2 separate regions of the Homo sapiens genome follow, and region 2 is linked to region 1. Evidence: promoter capture Hi-C in human tissues and cell types (Jung and others, 2019). All regions are on one chromosome and are shown on one strand. The core of a region is centred on a gene start or on the middle of the fragment in contact, and the rest is flanking DNA. Distances in the headings are between cores, read along the strand shown. Region 1 holds the start of OR11G2 (olfactory receptor family 11 subfamily G member 2). Region 2 holds the start of OR11H6 (olfactory receptor family 11 subfamily H member 6).

Region 1 (4,693 bases), core at 1,343-3,842:
GATGGATTTCAAACTATACTATAAAACTACACTAACCGAAACATCATGATACTGATACGAGAACAGACATATAGGCCAACTGAACAGAATAGATAACTGAGAAATAAAGCCGCATACCTATAGACATCTGATCTTCAGTAAAGTCAACAAAAATAAGCAATGGGGAAAGGATTTCCTATTCAGTGGGGAAACCACTCCCTATTCAATTCAATACTGCAATAGTAAGCTAGCCATGTGCAAAAAATTGAAACTGGACCCTATCTTTCACCATATACAAAAGTTAGCTCAAAGAGTAGAACAAAGATTTAAATGTAAGACCTCAAACTATAAGAATCCTAGAAGAACCCCTCCAAAACAGTATTCTGTTCATGGACCTTAGGAAAGAATTTATGACTAAGTCCTCAAAAGCAACTGCAACAAAAACAAAAGTTGACAAGTGGGACCTAATTAAACTAAAGAGCTTCTACATCGCAAAAGTAACTATCAGCAGAGTAAACAGACAACCTACAGAATGGGAGAAAATATTCATAAACTATGCATCCAACAAAGGTATCATATCCAAATCTATAAGGAACTTAATTCAACAAGCAAAAAACAAACACCACCATTAAAAAGAGATCAGAAGACATGAACAAACTCTTCTCAAAAGAAGATAGGCTGGGCATGGTGGCTCACACCTGTAATCCCAGCAATTTGGGAGGCCAAGGTGGGTGCATCATCTGAGGTCAGGAGTTCGAGACCAGCCTGGCCAACATGGTGAAACCCCACCTCTACTAAAATTACAAAAATTATCTGGGCGTGGCATTGCACGCCTGTAATCCCAGCTACCTGGGAGGCTGGGGCAGGAGAATTGCTTGAACCTGGGAGGCAGAGGTTGCAGTGAGCTGAGATCGTGCCACTGTACTCCTGCCTGAGCAACAGAATGAGACTCCATCCCAAAAAAAAGAAGATATACAAGTGGCCAACAAACATAGTTTTAAAAATGCTCTCAACATCACTAATGATCAGAGAAATACAAATTAAAACCACAATGAGATATCCTCTCACACCAGTCAGAATGGCTGTGGGTAAGAAGTCAAAAAACAGTATGTATGGGTGAGACTACAGAGAAAAAGGGAATGCTTATACACTACTGGTGGAAATGTAAATTAGGTCAGCCCCTGTGGATAGCAGTTTGGAGATTTCTCAAAAAACTTAGAACTACCATTCTACCCAACAGTCCCATTATTGGATATATAACCAAAGGAAAATAAATCATTCTACCAAAACATACATGCACTCATATGTTCATCACAGAACTAGTCACAATAGCAAAGACATGGAATCAACCTAGGCGTCCATTAGCACTGGGTTGTACAAAGAAAATGTGATACATATACACCATGGAATAATATGCAACCATGAAAAACAATGAAATCATGTCCTGTTCAGCAACATGGGTGCAGCTGAAAATCATTATCCTAAGCAGATTAACACAGGAACAGAAAACCAAATATCACATGTTCTCACCTACAAGTGAGAGCTAAACAGAGGGTGCACATGGACATAAAGATGGCAACAATAGACACTGGAAACTACCAGATGAGGAGGGAAGGGATGAAGGGCTAAAAAGCTACCTACTAAGTACTATGCTTAGTAGGTACTACTAGGTACCTACTACCTGGGTGACAGGATCAATTACATCCCAAACCTCAGCATCACACAATATAACCATGTAACAAACCTGCACGTGTACTTCCTGAATCTAAAATAAAAGTTAAAATTTTAAAACATAATAATATGTTAGAGCTGAATCATAGGGGGTTTTATTTGCCAATTTTAGATCTAATGCTGTCAACAGAGAAAAAAAATCAAAGCTGCTGAAAGGAGGAAGTAAAATTAACTAAGTCTTTGAGATAAAACTTCTTCCATATTTGGAGATAGAAGGACAGCAAATGAGTTGTGCTGAAAGACCTGCACCTGCATCAGGGATGAGAAAGGCTTAGAGCCCAACTTCAGATGCAACTGCTGGGGAAGAGCTAGTGCCCTGCTCTGGCCTCTCCTGGGCCTGGCAAGTGTGCCCTGAGAAGCAACTGCTTGGGAGTCACAGACCTCAACCCCAAGCAAGAAAGGAAAAGGTCTATAAGAAAATCATGGTGGTCCTGAGAGGAGATGGATTCCTGCTGTCATTACACTGCCCTCTATGCCTGAGATCTCATCACAAATCCAGCCATCTCTTTTTTCTCAAAAAAATCAGAGGTAACTCTGTCCCCAAAACCCATAACTGACACCACTCACTAGAGGCCCAGTGAACAGCTTTCTGCATCACAGCCATAACACCCTGTGTTACTTTGGTAGACTTTCCCTTGGATACCTGGTAGGTGCTCTGAGTGAGCTTGAAGACTGATTATATCTCATACCATCCCTGACAATTTGGAGGCTGGAAAAGATATTTTCTTCTCTACTGGAAAACAAAGGCAGGAGGCACCAAGGATCTCCAGAGAACGGAGGCCCCAGAGGAAGGAAAGAACCAGCACAGAACAGTCTCCTGACACTGTTCCTCTAGCTGGTAAATTGATCCTCACTGAGCACAGGACCAGAGCTCACTCCCTGAGGGCTCTGTTCATAATGCCTCCATCCTCCAGCAAACACCAAGAGACCTTCTCCCTATTTCTGCTCCTTCATTCTTTGATGGCTAACATAGAAAAGGCTACCTCTCCTCTCCAGGACAATCAGACAGTCTCAGAGAAACTTCAGGTTTGTGATCCCCTTTTGTCCATGAAAGGAGATGATGCAATGGACAAAGTTTCCAGGATTGGTAAAGCCTAGGTTGTAATTCAAGTCCTAGGCTCCTTACTCAAATCCACTGTTTTTCTACTATGCCTGAGTTGCCTACCCCTTCTCATAAAGGGAAAAGCTGTTCTTATTTTCAAGGACTTTGCAGAAAGTAAATAGGTGTAATGATATGTAGTCAAAATCAAGTGAAGCAGATGGATGTGTGCTGCTGAGATCAGAACAATAATGCTTCCGATCCACACTGCCTTTTTGAGCTAGCCTTGGGGAAAAAGTAAAACATCAGAGAAATGCTTTTGTCTCATATTATGTATTATAGCACAGGAGCTGGCTAACTTAATGTGGGTCTAATCCAACATTTCTGAGATATAATGAGGGTGAAGCTGTTGTTTTCTTGTTTGGAAAGTTAATTGACCCAATCCAAGCATCCTGTACAGCATCCACAGCTTTAACACCACTGAACCTGTATTCACACTTGCTTCTGTAACCAACTCGGGGGAATCTGCCTGCCACTTTGGACAGCTCCAGTTTAGCCCTGTGCCAGGTAAACACTGCTGCTGCTCTCTGTACAGAGGAGCTAGGTAATAAAAGGTGAGTAACATTACACTCTTGTTAGAAATATCTTTTTTCTGTCACACGCTCTTGATCTACTTAAGTCAAGCGTCAAATGGTGACAGCACACAGAGAATCATTTTCACACCCTTCTTGTTTTCTAGGGCAGCTTTGTTAGACTCTCAAAGTCGAAAAATTGCCCTGAGGGGGAACTTGCCTGGAAATTTTGCCTTCGTGTATAAATGTCAAACTACCCAACTGGCATTTTTTTTTTTTTTTTTTTGAGACAGAGTTTCACTCTGTCACCCAAGCTGGAGTGCAGTGGCACGATCACGGCTCACCACAACCTCTGCCTCCCGGGTTCAGTTGATTCTCCTGCTTCAGCCTCCCAAGTAGCTGAGATTACTGGCACATATGACCATACCCGGCTAATTTTTGTAGTATTAGTAAAAACGAGGTTTCAACATGTTGGCCAGGTTGGTCTCAAACTCCCGACCTCAGGTGATCTCCTGCCTCGGCCTCCCAAATAGCTGGGATTACAGGTGTGAACCACCAAGCCCAGCCCCCAAATGGCATTTTCATCTGAGAGACAAATGCAACAAACATCACCTCTAGATCCATAAAGTCTTCATATCATGTATACATGTGGGATACTTGGAATAATAGTATTTCATAATGAAAAGGAATCAAAAATCATATAATCCAACTCCCATTTCATATAAAGAAAATGAAGCTTATACAGGTTAAAAGACTACTAGAACCCCTCCACAACTTTGTTGCAATACTGAAGCTAGAATTTCCCTCTAGCTCTGTCCTAATTCTATATCCAAAGCTGTGGAACAATAATTATCTTTAGCAGTCAGGAAGAAACTCTCTGGGATGGGACATGTTCTATCACCCAGAACATTCGATTTCCCATGGCTTCCTTTGAATGGAATTCCTCTCAAGTCTAGGACAACACTCTAGTAGCCTAGGGTAATTTGAAGTCTCTCTTATATATTTCATTTCCTCAAATTTCATCTCTCCTTCATTTTGAAGTTCAATGAAGTAATTGGTAAATATCTATCGATGTATTGTCTATCTATATCCTCTATAACAGTGTAGACAATCATTTTTTAACAAATATTTGAGAAATACCTATTATCTTCCTCAGACTATGTGGGGCACTGGCGATAAAGAGTGAACTTGAAGTACAAGAGCAAAAATCCTGAGTCCTGAAAGTACCCGGCTGTTTGTAAAAACTGAAAGAAGGCCAGTGTTATATTGCTGAAGTTTTGAGGAGGAAGGGTGTACATGTTATGTGTGTGCATGCATGTGTATAGAGAGGAGACAGTCAGAGAGGCAAATTCCAATGGCTTTGGAAACATAA
Region 2 (4,693 bases), core at 1,476-3,975, 33 kb after region 1:
TCTTTTTTCAGACCCACAGCATGCAGTTGGACGTGCTGCAAAAATACACAGCTCAAGGAACCCCCAGCCTATGCACATGACTGTGCAGATATAGGTTGTAATCTTGATAGTTTTTATAAAACCTGAGTTCCAAAAGGGGAGGAATTTTATTTTGTATATTCACCATTATAACCCCAGAACTCAACACACTGCTAGCAATATAATAAATGGTGAATAAACATGTGTTAAATTAAATTCTTGAATAAACAAATAAATACATGAAATGCTACGATTTAAATTTAACATCCAACCTTTTTTTATTTTTTATTTCTTTTGTTTTAGAAACTTTTTTTTTATACTTTTAAGTTTTAGGGTACATGTGCACAACATGCAGGTTTGTTACATATGTATACATGTGCCATGTTGGTGTGCTGCTCCCATTAACTCATCATTTAACATTAGGTATATCTCCTAATGCTATCCCTCCCCCCTCCCCCCACCCCACGACAGGTCCTGGTGTGTGATGTTCCCCTTCCTGTGTCCATGTGTTCTCATTGTTCAATTCCCACCTATGAGTGAGAACATGCAGTGTTTGGTTTTTTTCCTTGCCGTAGTTTGCTGAGAATGATGGTTTCCAGCTACATCCATGTCCCTACAAAGGACATGAACTCATCATTTTTTATGGCTGCATAGTACTCCATGGTGTATATGTGCCACATTTTCTTAATCCAGTCTATCATTGTTGGACATTTGGGTTGGTTCCAAGTCTTTGCTACTGTGAATAGTGCCGCAATAAACATACATGTGCATGTGTCTTTATAGCAGCATGATTTATAGTCCTTTGGGTATATACCCAGTAATGGGATGGCTGGGTCAAATGGTATTTCTAGTTCTAGATCCCTGAGGAATCGCCACACTGACTTCCACAAGGGTTGAACTAGTTTACAGTCCCACCAACAGTGTAAAAGTGTTCCTATTTCTCCACATCCTCTCCAGCACCTGTTGTTTCCTGACTTTTTAATGATCGCCATTCTAACTGCCAACCGTTTTTTTAAATTGCAAGCCCAGTAATTATATTTTCCAAGAATGACATAGCATGTAGTGTGGGAAATACAAGCAGTTATGGAGAGTATATTTGAGAGTAATTACAACTGTCCTAAAAATTCTGATGCATGTGATCATGATAATTATTATTCATTAAACTGAACTGCTTGGACAAAATTTACATTTTCCTAAAAATCATGTTTATTAGAGAAATTGTTGTATTATTCTTAAAATATTGTTAACATGAATATCCAAAGTTACCTCGGCAATAAAACATTTATGCTTTTGGGTTTGCTCCAGGTTTGATCAAGTACTGAAAGGCAGGCCTCTCGCTCTCTGTGGATCATATAAATGATGTAAAGATGGAATTTTGTGAGTATCTTAACAGTGACGCTAATAATACAATAAATTATCCTAATTTTAAAGTCATTATATTGCTAAATTTAAAATATTGATAGTGGCTTACCCAGCCAAATATTCTGAACTTTAACAAGGATATTTGAGGACACAGAAATAAGCCTGCTGGACCAATAGTTTCTAGAAAATTGTTAGCAAAATATCTAAGTTATTTATCTTGTCTCAACTCCTGATTTAGAAAATATCAGAAAGATCTTTCTGTTCTCTGCACATCCTGAGGTGACTCTTTTATTCATTATTTAATTTATGGAAAAGCAAGATAATGAAGGGACAAATTATAAAGTTTAGGACTTAATTTCTAGCAAAAATAAAGGCACATGGCTTTATTACTAGAGAAATTGATTTACCCAACAGCAAGCTCCCTCAAGAGCTAAGTCATGATGTAGAATAGTACAATTTGTTGGAGAAGGAGGCTGACAAGCAGGGAAAATGGTGGCCTGCCAAAGAAGTCATAGGTAAGGGACATAACAGCTGCCTTCAGTTATTTAAGACCTCACTACCACCATCATGGGAGAGGAATTAGACTTATTTTGTGTAGTTTCAACAAAGTCAAAGTTTACCTGCTGACTTGGGGAGTACCAAGATCAATGGGTAAAAGTAATAAAGGATACAAAGTTTGCTCACCATAAAGAAGGGCTTTGAGAGAACTAGAGCTCCTCACGAGAAAAAGGGGCTGGATTATTCAGCAAATCCAGATGCCACCAGGGAGAATGTGATCTGGGGGGAACTAGATTTGTAGCTTTCAGACCATTTTACAGATTCCTAAGGGTTCTGCAGCACCTCCCTGAGAGTAGCAAAAGGAAGGGAGCTGAAGACTCCCCAAAGTTTAATTCCTATCTGCTTTTTATTGGACTTCTACATATGAGGCTCTAAGAAGGCAATTTTAATATAGCAACTATTCTTGCTTCAGATTTATACTCAATTTTGCTTTAAAGTAAAAGAATATATCCAAAGTTTATATTTATATGTAGAGTATCTAAGGGGCAGTGATTTTACCATTAAAGATGAAACATTACTGAGACTCAGGGTTATAGAAAATTTGAAGTGAAACATGATTTGTTCCAAACCAATCTCCAAATAGGCCAGTGTATCTGGGCGTTACTGGCTTTGTACATATGTTTAAGTGAACCCTTCTAATCTCTTTGAACTTCAATTACCCTGTCTGTGAAAGAGAAGGGTAAAGAATACCTCCTCGCAGCTCAAAGAGTCATTAGGAAGACCAAATGAGATAATGTATGTAAAAATACTTAGTACATCATCCAGCATGAGTTAGCAAAATCTCCAAATGTTCTTTATTATTCATTCTTTGGTTACTTCTGTTTTTCTAACAGCTTTGGGACCCCAGAACAGAACAATGCATTTTGTGACTGAGTTTGTCCTCCTGGGTTTCCATGGTCAAAGGGAGATGCAGAGCTGCTTCTTCTCATTCATCCTGGTTCTCTATCTCCTGACACTGCTAGGGAATGGAGCTATTGTCTGTGCAGTGAAATTGGACAGGCGGCTCCACACACCCATGTACATCCTTCTGGGAAACTTTGCCTTTCTAGAGATCTGGTACATTTCCTCCACTGTCCCAAACATGCTAGTCAATATCCTCTCTGAGATTAAAACCATCTCCTTCTCTGGTTGCTTCCTGCAATTCTATTTCTTTTTTTCACTGGGTACAACAGAGTGTTTCTTTTTATCAGTTATGGCTTATGATCGGTACCTGGCCATCTGTCGTCCATTACACTACCCCTCCATCATGACTGGGAAGTTCTGTATAATTCTGGTCTGTGTATGCTGGGTAGGCGGATTTCTCTGCTATCCAGTCCCTATTGTTCTTATCTCCCAACTTCCCTTCTGTGGGCCCAACATCATTGACCACTTGGTGTGTGACCCAGGCCCATTGTTTGCACTGGCCTGCATCTCTGCTCCTTCCACTGAGCTTATCTGTTACACCTTCAACTCGATGATTATCTTTGGGCCCTTCCTCTCCATCTTGGGATCTTACACTCTGGTCATCAGAGCTGTGCTTTGTATTCCCTCTGGTGCTGGTCGAACTAAAGCTTTCTCCACATGTGGGTCCCACCTAATGGTGGTGTCTCTATTCTATGGAACCCTTATGGTGATGTATGTGAGCCCAACATCAGGGAACCCAGCAGGAATGCAGAAGATCATCACTCTGGTATACACAGCAATGACTCCATTCTTAAATCCCCTTATCTATAGTCTTCGAAACAAAGACATGAAAGATGCTCTAAAGAGAGTCCTGGGGTTAACAGTTAGCCAAAACTGAGATATCTTTGAAAAAGAAGCCAAATTGGCCACTTCTGACCTTAATTTTTTATAACTATAGAGAGTAGCTTCAGTAGTATGTTCTGGCTCACACTCAGGTAGACAGACTTATCTTTCACAGTTCCTTAGCAGTTAAATTCAGCTCATTAATGATAAATGCCAATGCTCAATAAAACATTTTAAACATATGTGGCCTCACTGAGTAGTTATGTGGTGGGTGGGTGTATATATACGTATATTATTTTTCTGTGATGTATCTTTGCTAGTTTTAATCTTAGCTGACAGAAGAAATCAATTGCATGTGTACTGAAACCTTTCAAAAGAGTGAGATCTGGCTGGGCACGGTGGCTCACGACTGTAATCCCAGCACTTTGGGAGGCCAAAGCGGGAGGATCACCTGAGATCAGGAATTCGAGACCAGCCTGGGCAATATGATGAAACCCTGTCTCTACTAAAAATACAAAAATTAGCTGGGCGTGATGGCACACACCTGTAATCCCAGCTACTCAGGAGGCTGAGGAATGAGAATTGCTTGAACCTGGGAGGCTAAGCTTGCAGTGAGCTGATATCACGCCACTGCCCCCTAGCCTGCATGATAGAGCAAGACTGCATCTTAAAAAAAAAAAAAAAAAAAAAAAAAAAAAAAGTGAGATATTTTCAATTCAGAAAATATACATATTTTTGTTTGTTTGTTTGTTTGTTTGTTTCTGAGACGAAGTTTCGCTCTTGTTGCCCAGGCTGGAGTGCAGTGGCACAGTCTTGGCTCACTGCAATCTCCGCCTCCCGGCTTCAAGTGATCCTCCTGCCTCAGCCTCCCAAGTAGCTGGGATTACAGGTGCCCACCGCCACACCTGGCTAATTGTATTTTTAGTAGAGATGGGGTCATTTTTGTATTTTTAGTAGAGATGGGGTTTCACCATGTTGGCCAAGCTGGTCTCGAACTCCTGACCTCAAGTGATCCACCCCCCTACCCTTG

The links. Contacts are between HindIII fragments. The study calls those that stand out against the background at their distance.
Region 2: a contact is called between the fragment with the promoter of OR11H6 here and the fragment with the promoter of OR11G2 in region 1, in 6 of the 25 tissues and cell types used here (adrenal gland, neural progenitor cells, psoas muscle and 3 more).

The regions. Positions count from the first base shown.
Region 1 is chr14:20,188,304-20,192,996 of GRCh38, forward strand. It overlaps OR11G2 (olfactory receptor family 11 subfamily G member 2), which reads left to right and starts at 2,593. Exons shown (of 2, transcript NM_001386033.1): 1 at 2,593-3,363. The HindIII fragment of the contact is 15,749 bases long and covers 1-4,693 here.
Region 2 is chr14:20,220,985-20,225,677 of GRCh38, forward strand. It overlaps OR11H6 (olfactory receptor family 11 subfamily H member 6), which reads left to right and starts at 2,726. Exons shown (of 1, transcript NM_001004480.1): 1 at 2,726-3,718. The coding sequence starts at 2,726. The coding sequence ends at 3,718. The HindIII fragment of the contact is 13,960 bases long and covers 1-3,878 here.